2 separate regions of the Homo sapiens genome follow, and region 1 is linked to region 2. Evidence: promoter capture Hi-C in 16 types of primary human blood cells and fetal thymus (Javierre and others, 2016). All regions are on one chromosome and are shown on one strand. Each heading gives the region's core, a stretch centred on a gene start or on the middle of the fragment in contact. The rest is flanking DNA. Distances are from core to core; before and after follow the strand shown.

Region 1 (5,334 bases), core at 2,835-5,334, 5.1 Mb before region 2:
GAGCCATTCTTCAGGTGAAAGTGATATCTTCTGACATTAGTATTGATTGCATTAATACTTTATTTACAGGTGTTCTTCCAGAGAGCAAAGCCCTGAGGACTGGATTTCCCTGTGCCTACTTCATGATCATGAATTCCAGTTAATTTATAAAGAGGCGATTTTTGTGTGCCATTCACACTGGTCTTTTTCACATTGTTTTGAGCTTATTGCAGTATATGTTTTGGGATTTTTCTGTAAAATGGGTGTAATTTTCCTAATACAGGTATGTAACAACAAAAGAAGTTGCCTGCATGCCGGTCCAAATTGTTCTGTATAAAGATGCTCTTAAAAGACACAAGAGTTATCCTAGAACCTTAATTCTTTTTTATTTGAAATTTTAAGTCAAGTCCTTTATAAAGACCATAGCAGTGGAAAACAGTGTACTTTTTAAAAAATTGCTGAATATAAAATCTTTGAAAATTTTCTTTATGTGTGAAGACACAAAGTATGGGGGAAGACAGCAATCAAAACTAACTTTTTGTAGATAGCCATTTCATTTCTTTAAACTGTTTCAACGCCAATATGTATTCTACAAAAGAGAATGGTTTTAGGCTCCAGTGTTATACTTTTTTTTATATATATATATAAAAATAAACTTTACGTAGTGAAATCTTCCAAGTCTTTTCTGGAATTATTATAAATACTTTAGTTTTATTTTCTCATCTTAATCTCTCCATAATTTCCCATTTAAAGGTTTACAAATATGAGTGTGTGGATGCTTTAATTCATTTAACCTCACTCCTCAAAGGTAACATGCAACTTAGTTCTGTTATATGAGAGTCTTTTTCTTTAATGTACTGGAAAAAGCCTATGTGAATCTGTTGATAGAATTTAAAATTCCAGGCCGGGCGTGGTGGCTCACGACTGTAATCCCAGAACTTTGGGAGGCCAAGGCAGGTGGATCACTTGAGGTCAGGAGTTCGAGACTAGCCTGGCCAACATGGTGAAACCCCATCTCTACTAAAAATACAACAGCCAGGTGTGATGGTGCACGCTCGTAATCCCGGCTACTCAGGAGGCTGAGGCAGGAGAATCGCTTGAACCCGGAAGGCAGAGGTTGCAGTGAGCTGAGATTGTGCCACTGCACGCCAGCCTGGGCAAGAGAGTAAGACTCTCTCTCAAAAAAAAAAAAAAAGAATTTAAAATCCCAATTTATTTTCTAACTCTTTTATTGGATGTATTTAGAACACAGTATACCTATAGTATACCTATGTGTTTATTATGTTTGTAAATGGTAACTGACATTTAATTATTAGAAGTACTTACCCCTGCCTTCCTCCATTTTTATTCATGGCTACTTGAGAAAGCAAAAGGAAAAAATAATAGTTATCAGTAGTGTCACTGGAAAGAAGAGAGGAGGGACAAAACTGAGCAGCAGAATTCGTATAGACATTTACGTTTAAATTCTAAAAGCCCAATTGAGATGTTCAGGGAGGGTTTGTTTTGCCCTTTGGCCTCATGAATGGGTTTCATGAATGGGCTTCAGTGGCTTATAAACTCTGTAAAATTCTATTCTAAATTTTGTACATTTATTTTGTTCCGGTTAATTCCAGAAGACATTTCAAACATTTTTCTTACACCATATAATAAAAATACTTAACTAAATTGACAGTTATAAAAATAAATCAGTGAAATGTACCTTATACTTTAATAAAAAATGTTTTCAGAAATAGATAAGTGAAAGCTGAGTGTTTCTTTGATAGGTTCCCCTGTACTATAGGAGTGATAATTGCAGCTATTGCAATAGTAGTAATTGTTAAATGGATACTAATGAATAGCATAGCATAGTGGGTAAGAGTTTATATAGCACAGGCTCTAGAATCAGATTAAGTAGGTTCAAATACCAGTTCTGCCAGTAACTGGTTTTAGAACCTTGGGCAAGTTAAAGAATGTCTCCCAGCCTCAGTTTCCCTATTTGTAAAATGGAAATAATGGTAGCTACCTCAAACCTCATTACGAATTCAATGAGTTAAACTTGAAAAGACTTATTACAGTAGCTGGCACATAAAGACTTGATAGTAGTTTATATGGATGCTATCTCATATTAGCATATATGGAATTAATAGTGTATCACTATACTTTTTTTTTCTTTTTTTTTTTTGAATAGAGATCAGTCTATCACCCAGGCTGGAGTGCAGTGGTGACATCATAGCTCACTGTAACTTCTCCCATACTCTACCAATCCTCCTGCCTCAGCATCCAGACTAGCTGTGATTACAGGTGTGCACCACCACACCCAGCTACATTTTTTTTTGGTAGAGACAGGGTCTCACTATGTTACCCAGTCTGGTCTCAAACTCCCGGCCTCAAGCAATCCTCCCACTGGCCTCACAATGTTGGGATTACAGGTATAAGCCACTGCACACGGCCTTACTATGCTATCAATTCCATATATGGAAAGGTGTTTTCCCTTTCAGAGCTCTTTAAAGCTCTGCAGAAGATTTACATGTGTTTATAGAGCTAAGAGAAATCAGGGCATGGAAATTGAGTGTGTAATAAAAATTAAACTCTTCATGTTATATAATCATGCATAACTTCTATCTTCATTCTCTGAAGTTGCCTAGAGCACCATCACAGCTAGGAAGCTTCCATCATGAATTACCTTATTTCCAAAAGCAAGTACTCAAATAATTGTCTCAAGAGAGGAAGGACAAAACTGTTACAAGCTGAAATATTTGGGGATTTGTTTGACTTGACTAGGGAACCACAAGTTTTCATATAATGCCTGATTTAGCCCTGTGCCTAACAGTTTAAATCTTAATGCTAATGTTAATTGCTTCCCAGTTGGTTGACCTTATAAGAAAACACTGTGTGGTATTTTAATGTGGTAAACATGTGAATGAAGGCCTGTGGCTCAGTTAATCACTCCCACAACTTTGAGCTGTGAGTTTTACTGGTGGAAGGAACTTTAACAGGTCTTCGCTCTTGTCATTAGATATCAAAGAACTGAAATTAGTTGGAATTGTAAGCAGTGAATAGATGTGTTGTTAGAATGATTCCATCACTTATACATTGTTTAAAATGCTAATAAAGTAACTTGCTTTGTAAGAATTCATTAGAGTGGACTTTTGTTATCTCCATTGTGCATTTGATAAAACTGAGGCTTAGAGAGGTAAGAGATTAGCTTTTAAGTCAGTAATTGGCAGCCGAGACAGCAACCCTAGGTCTGTTACATTCAAAAGCCTCTGAGCCACTCCGCATGACTTCCCATTCATTCGTGTTTGCTGCTGCTACTCTGGGAAACACCATCTTCCTCTTCCCCTCCACTCAGAAATTTAGCCCTAGATTAGCAGCGGTCTCTGCTCCCTCATGTTGAGAAAGGCCTGTTGTGCTGTCCGTGGGCAGAAGGGACCCCTTCAGAAAGCTATTCCTTATTGGGAATAGCGGCTTGAGATTTTGACTGCACGAATATTGCAGGACCTAATTTTAGTATTTAAGTTTTAGTTCTTAAATTCTTAAGTTTAGAGTTAGATACTCCAATACGGCCGTTTTCCAAAATACCGAGAGGGAATTAAATGAACATTTTTACATTAAGAATTTAATGTATTTCTGGGTGATGGGAAAATGAAAAAAACAATGTAAAGTCTGAATTACTGCGAGACGATAATCTGGCTCCACTGCAGCCAAAGTGGGCCCTTAAAACATAGAATCCATCCCTCCCAGCTCTGCCGGCCGTCTGTGCCTGCCCCCCACGTGTCCCACGTTCTGCACACCTGTAAATCTTGGGATGTAATCCCTTGCTCAGCGTCGGTCCGCCCTACTGTCGGCCAGCGCTCGGGGAAGGGGCGGGATTTGCAGTTGCGGGAATCCCAATTACTGTGTTCGCTGCTCAGGGCTCCTCATTCCCCTTTAGAGTAAAGGGCGAGGGCAACAGTGGACGGGGTGTCTCCAGACATCCCCCTCATTACCGTGGCCGCGGAAGCCGACTCGGCAGTTGCCGCCGCGGCTGTGGTGACTACCAGACGGGCCATAGGCGTGCGCACGCGCACCCGCACCGGCGCGCCGGCCGTCGGTCACGTGGCCTCCGGCCAGGGCTTGCGAAGCCGGAAGTGTCCTGAGTCTCGAGGAGGCCGCGGGAGCCCGCCGGCGGTGGCGCGGCGGAGACCCGGCTGGGTAAGTGAGACGGCCGCGGGCTGAGGGGCCAAGGCGGCGCGGGGCGCGGTCGGTCAGGCCTGCGCCGCCCGGCGGGGAGCGCTCCCGCCCCCTGTGGGAGGCTGGGATGCTGAGTCAGAGCGGGGGCGGGGGCGGGCGCACCGAGAAGCCCCGGACGACCCGAGGCCAAGCCATCCAGGACCCCGGCTGCGTGGACACTGCCTCTGGGGTGTGTGTCGGGTGGCCGTAGCCGGTGGAATGGTCGCGCGGGCCCTGTTACCTGCATCCCCGCTCCGCGCCGCGCGGCCGGTCCTCGACCTGCATCCCGTCCGGCGGCTTTGGGCATAAAGAGGACGACTCCGTTACCGGGCCTGGGCCCTGGCTGCCTGGGGAGGCAGGGGCACCTCTTTCCCTTAGACTCGCTGTTTTCTACCCTCTTTCCGAGCGTCGACACAACGGGCAGTTTTTAAATGTATTGATTTTTCAGAGGATTAAAAAGAGACGTTTCCTTAGAGTTTTAGTGATGTTCAGTCCGCAGAGGTTGACTCACACCGGAAATTAGAAGCATAAGATGTTTTAAATATATGCCGATGAAATACGAATTCCCAGACATTTCCTTGCTCCTCGTCTACCTGGCTTATGGGTTTAATTTGTAATCTCTATCCCAAGTATTCTTAGTAGGTGGCCTCAAAACAACTCCCAAGTAATTGCCAAATGTATAACCAAAGACTGGTCTTTTCCACTCTGAAACCCCAGTGTATGAATCACATAGGGGCAGAGTTTAGAAATCCTGGAACTTTGTCCATAGGCCATGTCGTCAAACCTGTTTTCATCCCTCAACAAATAGTAACTTTCGTTTTGGACGGTGTAAGGAAGTAGGCTGAAGACGGCATCATCAGCAACATAGTTGTTGAGTGTCTGCTTATATGCTTGTCAAAAATTTGGGAAGATTTATATGGCAAGCACGTTGTGGGTGTGCTGAGTCATGTTTTAACATGTTATTGTGGAGTTATTGGAAGATAATTTCAAAAGACATTTCCCCTGACCACTATTGTGATTACTGTTAAATAGAAACCATAGTTTTGTATTTGCATAGAGAACAGATATCTTAGCTGATAAATATTTTTCTTATTATCCTGAAGGTACATACATATAGGTACCTAATGGTACTATTTGCCATTTACAGTTACATTGATTAGGGAA
Region 2 (6,087 bases), core at 450-2,949:
AATAAAAAGTGTGAGCAAGAACTCCATTTCTATGGCAACCCGCGCGGCAGCCGCCTCTTTGTTCTGGAGCGGCGGCCACGCCCCCTCCAGTGTGAAAGGCTGCGTTTCCGGCCCGTGGGGCTCCAATCAAAATGGGACGCCTGCTGGCGGTAACGACAGGCCGGGGCCCCGCCCCCCGAAGTAGGGCGTGTGGCGTCACTTCCGGCTTCCTTCAGTCCGCTGGTCCCGAGCACGAGCTGTGAGGGGATTCACTTGTGTGCGGAACTCCTCGGAACCATGGTGAGCCTGACTCCCCTGCCTCTTGCCCTACCCCTGCTCCGCCGTGCTCTTGCCACCCCACTGCTTCCTCTGTCCTGCTAGGGTCGTAGGCTCCGTTTCTGTCTCCCCGGCCCTCCGCACATGGTGCGAGCCATGCGCGGGGCGTGCGGCCTGCGCCAGGCCAGCCGGTGGAGCTCACCACGAGGGGGAGGGGTGGACCGCAAAGCCAGCGTCTCCTTGTGCCTAGGTCTTTGCATAGTCCCGGCAGCCCAGGTCCGCGCCTCACCCGGAGCGAAGAAATTTCTAGTGTGGGACCCGCTCCGCCCTCCTTCTAGGGGCGGAGCCTGGAGCGACGGGGTCTGAGCCATCAGAGGGTGGAGGGGCCGCAGCCTTCCGAGGGTGGAAGATGGAGGCCGCGTTCCCTCGCCCGCCCGGCAGGCGTCACCTTGATGGCCTGCAACCCCTCCCTGCCTCATTCTTAGTTCAAGATCGTCTTTAGTCTCGCTGTACGTAACTGTCAATCTCGCTGGTGTATAATTTATACTCCCGGGGGCCTTGTAAATCCGAAAAGCCATGTCGCTCTCCTACAAGTCCCTCTCTCCCACTTAAATGCTTTCTCCGATGATGGAAGCTTCATTTGATTGAAAACATTGTTGTAAATGAGTTTTCTCTTAGATGTCCACTTGTAAGACTAGTGGAAGGCACCTCAGTGTATGTGTTAGAGTATTGGTACTTAAACGGAATGCCTCTTGGTTTTCCTTTTCAGGCGTCCCTTTCCCTTGCACCTGTTAACATCTTTAAGGCAGGAGCTGATGAAGAGAGAGCAGAGACAGCTCGTCTGGTAAGCCTTGTTCTAAGCATTGTTTTAAAGATAAAACTGGAGGCCAGGCGCGGTGGCTTACTCCTGTAATCCCAGTACTTTGGGAGGCCGAGGTAGGCGGATGAACTGAGGTCAGGAGTTCGAGACCAGCCTGGCCAACATGGTAAAACCCCGTTTCTACTAGAAATACAAAAATTAGCCGGGCGTGGTGATGGGCACCTGTAATCCCAGCTACTCGGGAGGCTGAGGCAGGAGGATCGCTTGAACCCAGGAGGCGGAGGTTGCAGTGAGCTGAGATCGCGCCATTGCACTCCAGCCTGGGCGACAGAGCGACACTCTGCCTCAAAAAAAAAAAAAAGTAAATAAAGATAAAACTGTACTTGAAGACTGTAAAGTTGATTCTGATAATCTCCTTGGTTTTTACTCCAGACTTCTTTTATTGGTGCCATCGCCATTGGAGACTTGGTAAAGAGCACCTTGGGACCCAAAGGCATGGTAAGAAAAATAGAAAAGTTTTATATTTTAATATTGTTTTAGAGCGCTTGGTGGAAATATAATAACAAGCGTATTAAAATGCTTTTTAATCTTTAAAACGTTTAATTATAAAAGACAAGTATGTTCTCCTTAGTAAAAATCAGAGTCCCCAGAATCACCATCCCCAATCCCATGCCCCTCCCCAATGACAAGTACTGTTATCATTTGCACGTACATCTTCTAATATTCTGTTTATGTAGAAGTATGTGTACTTCATTATGTATTTTATACTCATGTAACATACTGTTTTATAAAACAGATACTATTTATCAATACTTTTTTGTAGCTTGCTCTTTTAAATTCCTTTCAGTGTAAGTAGATAACACTGCCCCTTTAACTGTCAAATATTATCCTGTACCTTAATTATTTTATAATTTAATTATGGCTGTATTGATAGTTTCTTTCCATTGTTTTTGCAGTTACGGTGTTGAAACAAAAACTAGTGTCTACCTGTGCTTCTAGTGTTTCTAGGGGTAGATACATGGTTTGGTTACGTGGTGTATGTATTGAAAACATTTGATGAATGGATACCACAAAATAGCTATCCAGAGTGTTTATACACTAGCACTGTGTGAGAATACTGATTGATCCATGCATTCTTCAAGATGTGCTTATGTCTTAACTTGAACCAATTATGTTCCCTTTAGGACAAAATTCTTCTAAGCAGTGGACGAGATGCCTCTCTTATGGTAACCAATGATGGTGCCACTATTCTAAAAAACATTGGTGTTGACAATCCAGCAGCTAAAGTTTTAGTTGGTAAGTCTGAATATACTTTTTCACCAACCTAATAATACTGTTTGTTAACATTTTTGAAATAACTTTATAAATAGGCTGTGTTGACCAATCGTACTGTCAATTGATGTCCACTAGTTGTTAATTATCGTTGTTAAAATACAAGCTTCAGGAGTGCCCGTATGTTGGTGGTAAAACTGTTGCATTTCAGACCTCAGAGTTCCAAATAATTTGTTGAATGAGGAACCCTGGTAAGTTTAGATTGGTAGTGAATATTTTTGGAGAATTTAGTAAGCAAAGAAGCAATTTTGAGTTAATAACTAATTTCTTTTTCTAGATATGTCAAGGGTTCAAGATGATGAAGTTGGTGATGGCACTACCTCTGTTACCGTTTTAGCAGCAGAATTATTAAGGGTAAGAGCAACTAAGCAACTCTTTTTTCCTACTGTGTTTTTGAGTATCAGAGGTAATCTAGTCCTTACTTCCTCTGTCTTTACTATTGAGGAGTGCTTAATAATTTTCTATTTATAACTTTTGTTTTATAACTTTATTAATAGGAAGCAGAATCTTTAATTGCAAAAAAGATTCATCCACAGACCATCATAGCGGGTTGGAGAGAAGCCACGAAGGCTGCAAGAGAGGCGCTGTTGAGTTCTGCAGTTGATCATGGGTTTGTATAGCAAAGTACTACTGTTCTAAACATTTAGTGTTCTTTCATAACATGCTTAATGCAAGAAATCTATAGGACACTGAAAAGCATACACAAAGATCATCTTGCTGCCTCACCCCACTCCAACAGTCAAACCTACATCAGCCTCCAGAGATAGCCACTAAAGTTAAGTTTGGGTTTTTAGTCTTTTTGTATATATCATCAAAATATACAAATAAAGCAAATAGTATAATACTGTATAGAGAATTTGTTAGCCTCTTTTTAACCTAGTTAAATATTAAGCACATTTTTGGATGTCAATTTTCTGTGCAGTATTTTAATAGAGTTACACATTTGAATATTTGGCTAGAATGACTGTATTAACCTATCTGTAGGGGGAGATTTGTGTATTTGATGATTTTTAGCATTATAAAATAACTTTGTGACGTTGCGACATAGCCCAAAGGTTTCTAGAAGTGTAATTGTTGGGTCCAAAGGTAAGTGTGTGTGTTTTAAGGCACCCCCAAACCTGGGCTGCACAGCAGGTGAGCAGCAGGTGGAAAAATTGTCTTCCCATGAAACCAGTCCCTGGTGCCAAAAAGGTCCGGGACCACTGTTTTAAGGCACTTCTATTTATTTGCCCATTCACAACTGTATAATAATACTTGTTTTTCACGTCCTTTTATTTATTTATTTATTTTGAGACGGAGTCTCGCTCTTAGAGTTGCCCAGAATGGAGTGCAGTGGCACGACTTCGGCTGACTGCAACCTCTGCCTCCCGGGTTCAAGCGATTCTCTTGCCTCAGCCTCCCAAGTAGCAGGGACTACAGGCATGTGCCATCATAGCCAGCTAATTTTGTATTTTTAGTGTAGATGGGGTTTCACCATGTTGCTCAGGCTGGTCTTGAACTGACCTCAAGTGATCCATCCTCCTCAGTCTCCCAAAGTGCTAGGATTACAGGCGTGAGCCACTGTGCCCGGCCATTTCTCACATTCTTGCCAACATTAGACTTTTGCATGCTTGTGTGGCCCCCACCCCTCTTTTTTTTTTGGCATTTTGCCAGTTTGGTGGGGAAAATAACATCTTTAATTTGTGTTTCTTGATTACTGCTGAGGTTTAATTCTTTTCATATAGCTTACAGACTTGATCAGTTAGGGTAAAATTATCTATTGACATGAATATCTAGATAAATTTTGAAAAGTAAAGTAGGGTTAATATGTATATTTGGTTGGTTTTATTTAGTTCCGATGAAGTTAAATTCCGTCAAGATTTAATGAATATTGCGGGCACAACATTATCCTCAAAACTTCTTACTCATCACAAAGACCACTTTACAAAGTTAGCTGTAGAAGCAGTTCTCAGACTGAAAGGCTCTGGCAACCTGGAGGCAATTCATATTATCAAGAAGCTAGGAGGAAGTTTGGCAGATTCCTATTTAGATGAAGGTATGTATGAATGTCAGATACAAGAAGCTTTGATTAGATGCTGAGGGCTGAATACTGAGTGAATTCTGTTTTGAGACCAGTGACCCTTTACAAAGCCAGTGAACTTGAATTTAAGGACATATCATATGTGCAACCATTTTTGTCATTTTATTGACAGTGTACTCCTCTTCCCGCGCTATTCCAGCATTGTTGATGATCTCTAGAGTTTACTTAACTACCATGAAGTTATTTGCAGTCTCTGATAAAGAGGAAATGTTTTCTTTTACTAGAAATCATCTATTCTCAAATGGTACTTTTACCAGGATTATATGTATTCTCCAGGAAGGGTCTGGGTCAGTCAAATCATTGTGTTAGCTGGTTGTTGAGGATGTACAGTTGACCATTGAACAACATGGGTTTGAATTATGTAGGTTCACAATGCAGGTTTTTTCAATAAATATAGTCAGCCCTTTGTGTCCGTGGTTTGCACATGTGCAACCGAACGTGGATGGAAAATGCAGTATTTGCAGGATTTGAAACCCATGTATATAGTGGGCCAGCTTTTCAAATCTGCTGGTTCCAGTCAGCCTGGAACTTAAGTATGTGGGGATTTTGGTGTATGTGGGCGTCTTGGAACCAGTCCCCTTCGTATACTGGGGGATGACTAGTTTTTTTTAGAAAAGAATTAAAAAAAATTTCTTTAACAAATAATTATGTATGTTTATAGGGCAAGAGGATCTAGTTCTTAAAGAGTGATAAATGAGACATAATAAGTACTGCTTTCTTAGTAGTACATTTTTGTTTAGAGTGAAGTTTTCCAGATCATCTTCACATTATATTTACTTCACAAAATGGCCTGTCAAAAAGTATAGGCATTCTTATATAGAGAAGGAAAAAAAAAGAATTAGATGGTGCTTTACAACTTCTGTTTTTACCAGTGGTTTGGAGTCCTGGTTTTGTTCTGTGTCATAGGTCTTGATTTATTTTAAGAGAGAGTCATAATTCTGAAAATACTCTTGATTAAGTTTATATACAAGAGCTGTGTAGCATTTCTTTTTTTTTTTTTTTGAGACGGAGTCTGGCTGTGTCACCCAGGCTGGAGTGCAGCAGTATGATCTCGCCTCACTGCAACCACTGCCTCCTGAGTTAAGGCGATTCTCCTGCCTCAGCCTCCTGAGTAGGTGGGATTACAGGCGTGTGCCACCATGCCTGGCTAACTTTTTTGTATTTTTAGTAGAGACGGGGTATCGCCATGTTGACCAGGCTGGTCTCGAACTCCTGACCTAAGGGGATCCACCTGCCTCAGCCTCCCAAAGTACTGGGATTACAGGCGTGAGCCACCATGCCTGGCCGCTGCGTAGCATTTCTGATAGGGGCTGGTGGTAGGGAAGGAGCATTAAAACAAGAATATTAGTAGCACAAGCAGCACCATTCTTGAATGTCTGCTCTGTACTAGGAATTGTAATAGGAACTTTAGTCATTTAGTCATCATGACCTGGTGAGTGAGGATTAGGTTCACTTGAATAGAGTAGAAAACCCAAGATAATGGTGGCTTCATAATGGAAAAGTTTCTAATGTAACCAAAAAAAGGCCTAGAAAGGTAGGTGGTACTGGGTTTGTATGATGGTTCCAAAGCAGCAGGACTAGGCTGGTAACTAGCACCTCT

What was found. The method cuts DNA at HindIII sites, captures the fragments that hold promoters and counts their contacts. A CHiCAGO score of 5 or more calls a contact.
Region 1: a contact is called between the fragment with the promoter of TBK1 here and a fragment that was not itself captured in region 2, in 1 of 17 cell types (total CD4 T cells). The highest score is 8.2, in total CD4 T cells.

The regions. Positions count from the first base shown.
Region 1 is chr12:64,448,036-64,453,369 of GRCh38, forward strand. It overlaps TBK1 (TANK binding kinase 1), which reads left to right and starts at 4,085. Exons shown (of 21, transcript NM_013254.4): 1 at 4,085-4,152. It overlaps XPOT (exportin for tRNA), which reads left to right. Exons shown (of 25, transcript NM_007235.6): 25 at 70-3,090. The coding sequence ends at 96. RefSeq lists a silencer at 3,956-4,425. The HindIII fragment of the contact is 9,573 bases long and covers 2,623-5,334 here.
Region 2 is chr12:69,585,246-69,591,332 of GRCh38, forward strand. CCT2 (chaperonin containing TCP1 subunit 2) reads left to right here and starts at 214. Exons shown (of 16, transcript NM_006431.3): 1 at 214-279; 2 at 1,025-1,099; 3 at 1,508-1,573; 4 at 2,260-2,371; 5 at 2,685-2,761; 6 at 2,905-3,017; 7 at 4,240-4,442. The coding sequence starts at 277. RefSeq lists an enhancer at 245-584. The HindIII fragment of the contact is 1,624 bases long and covers 888-2,511 here.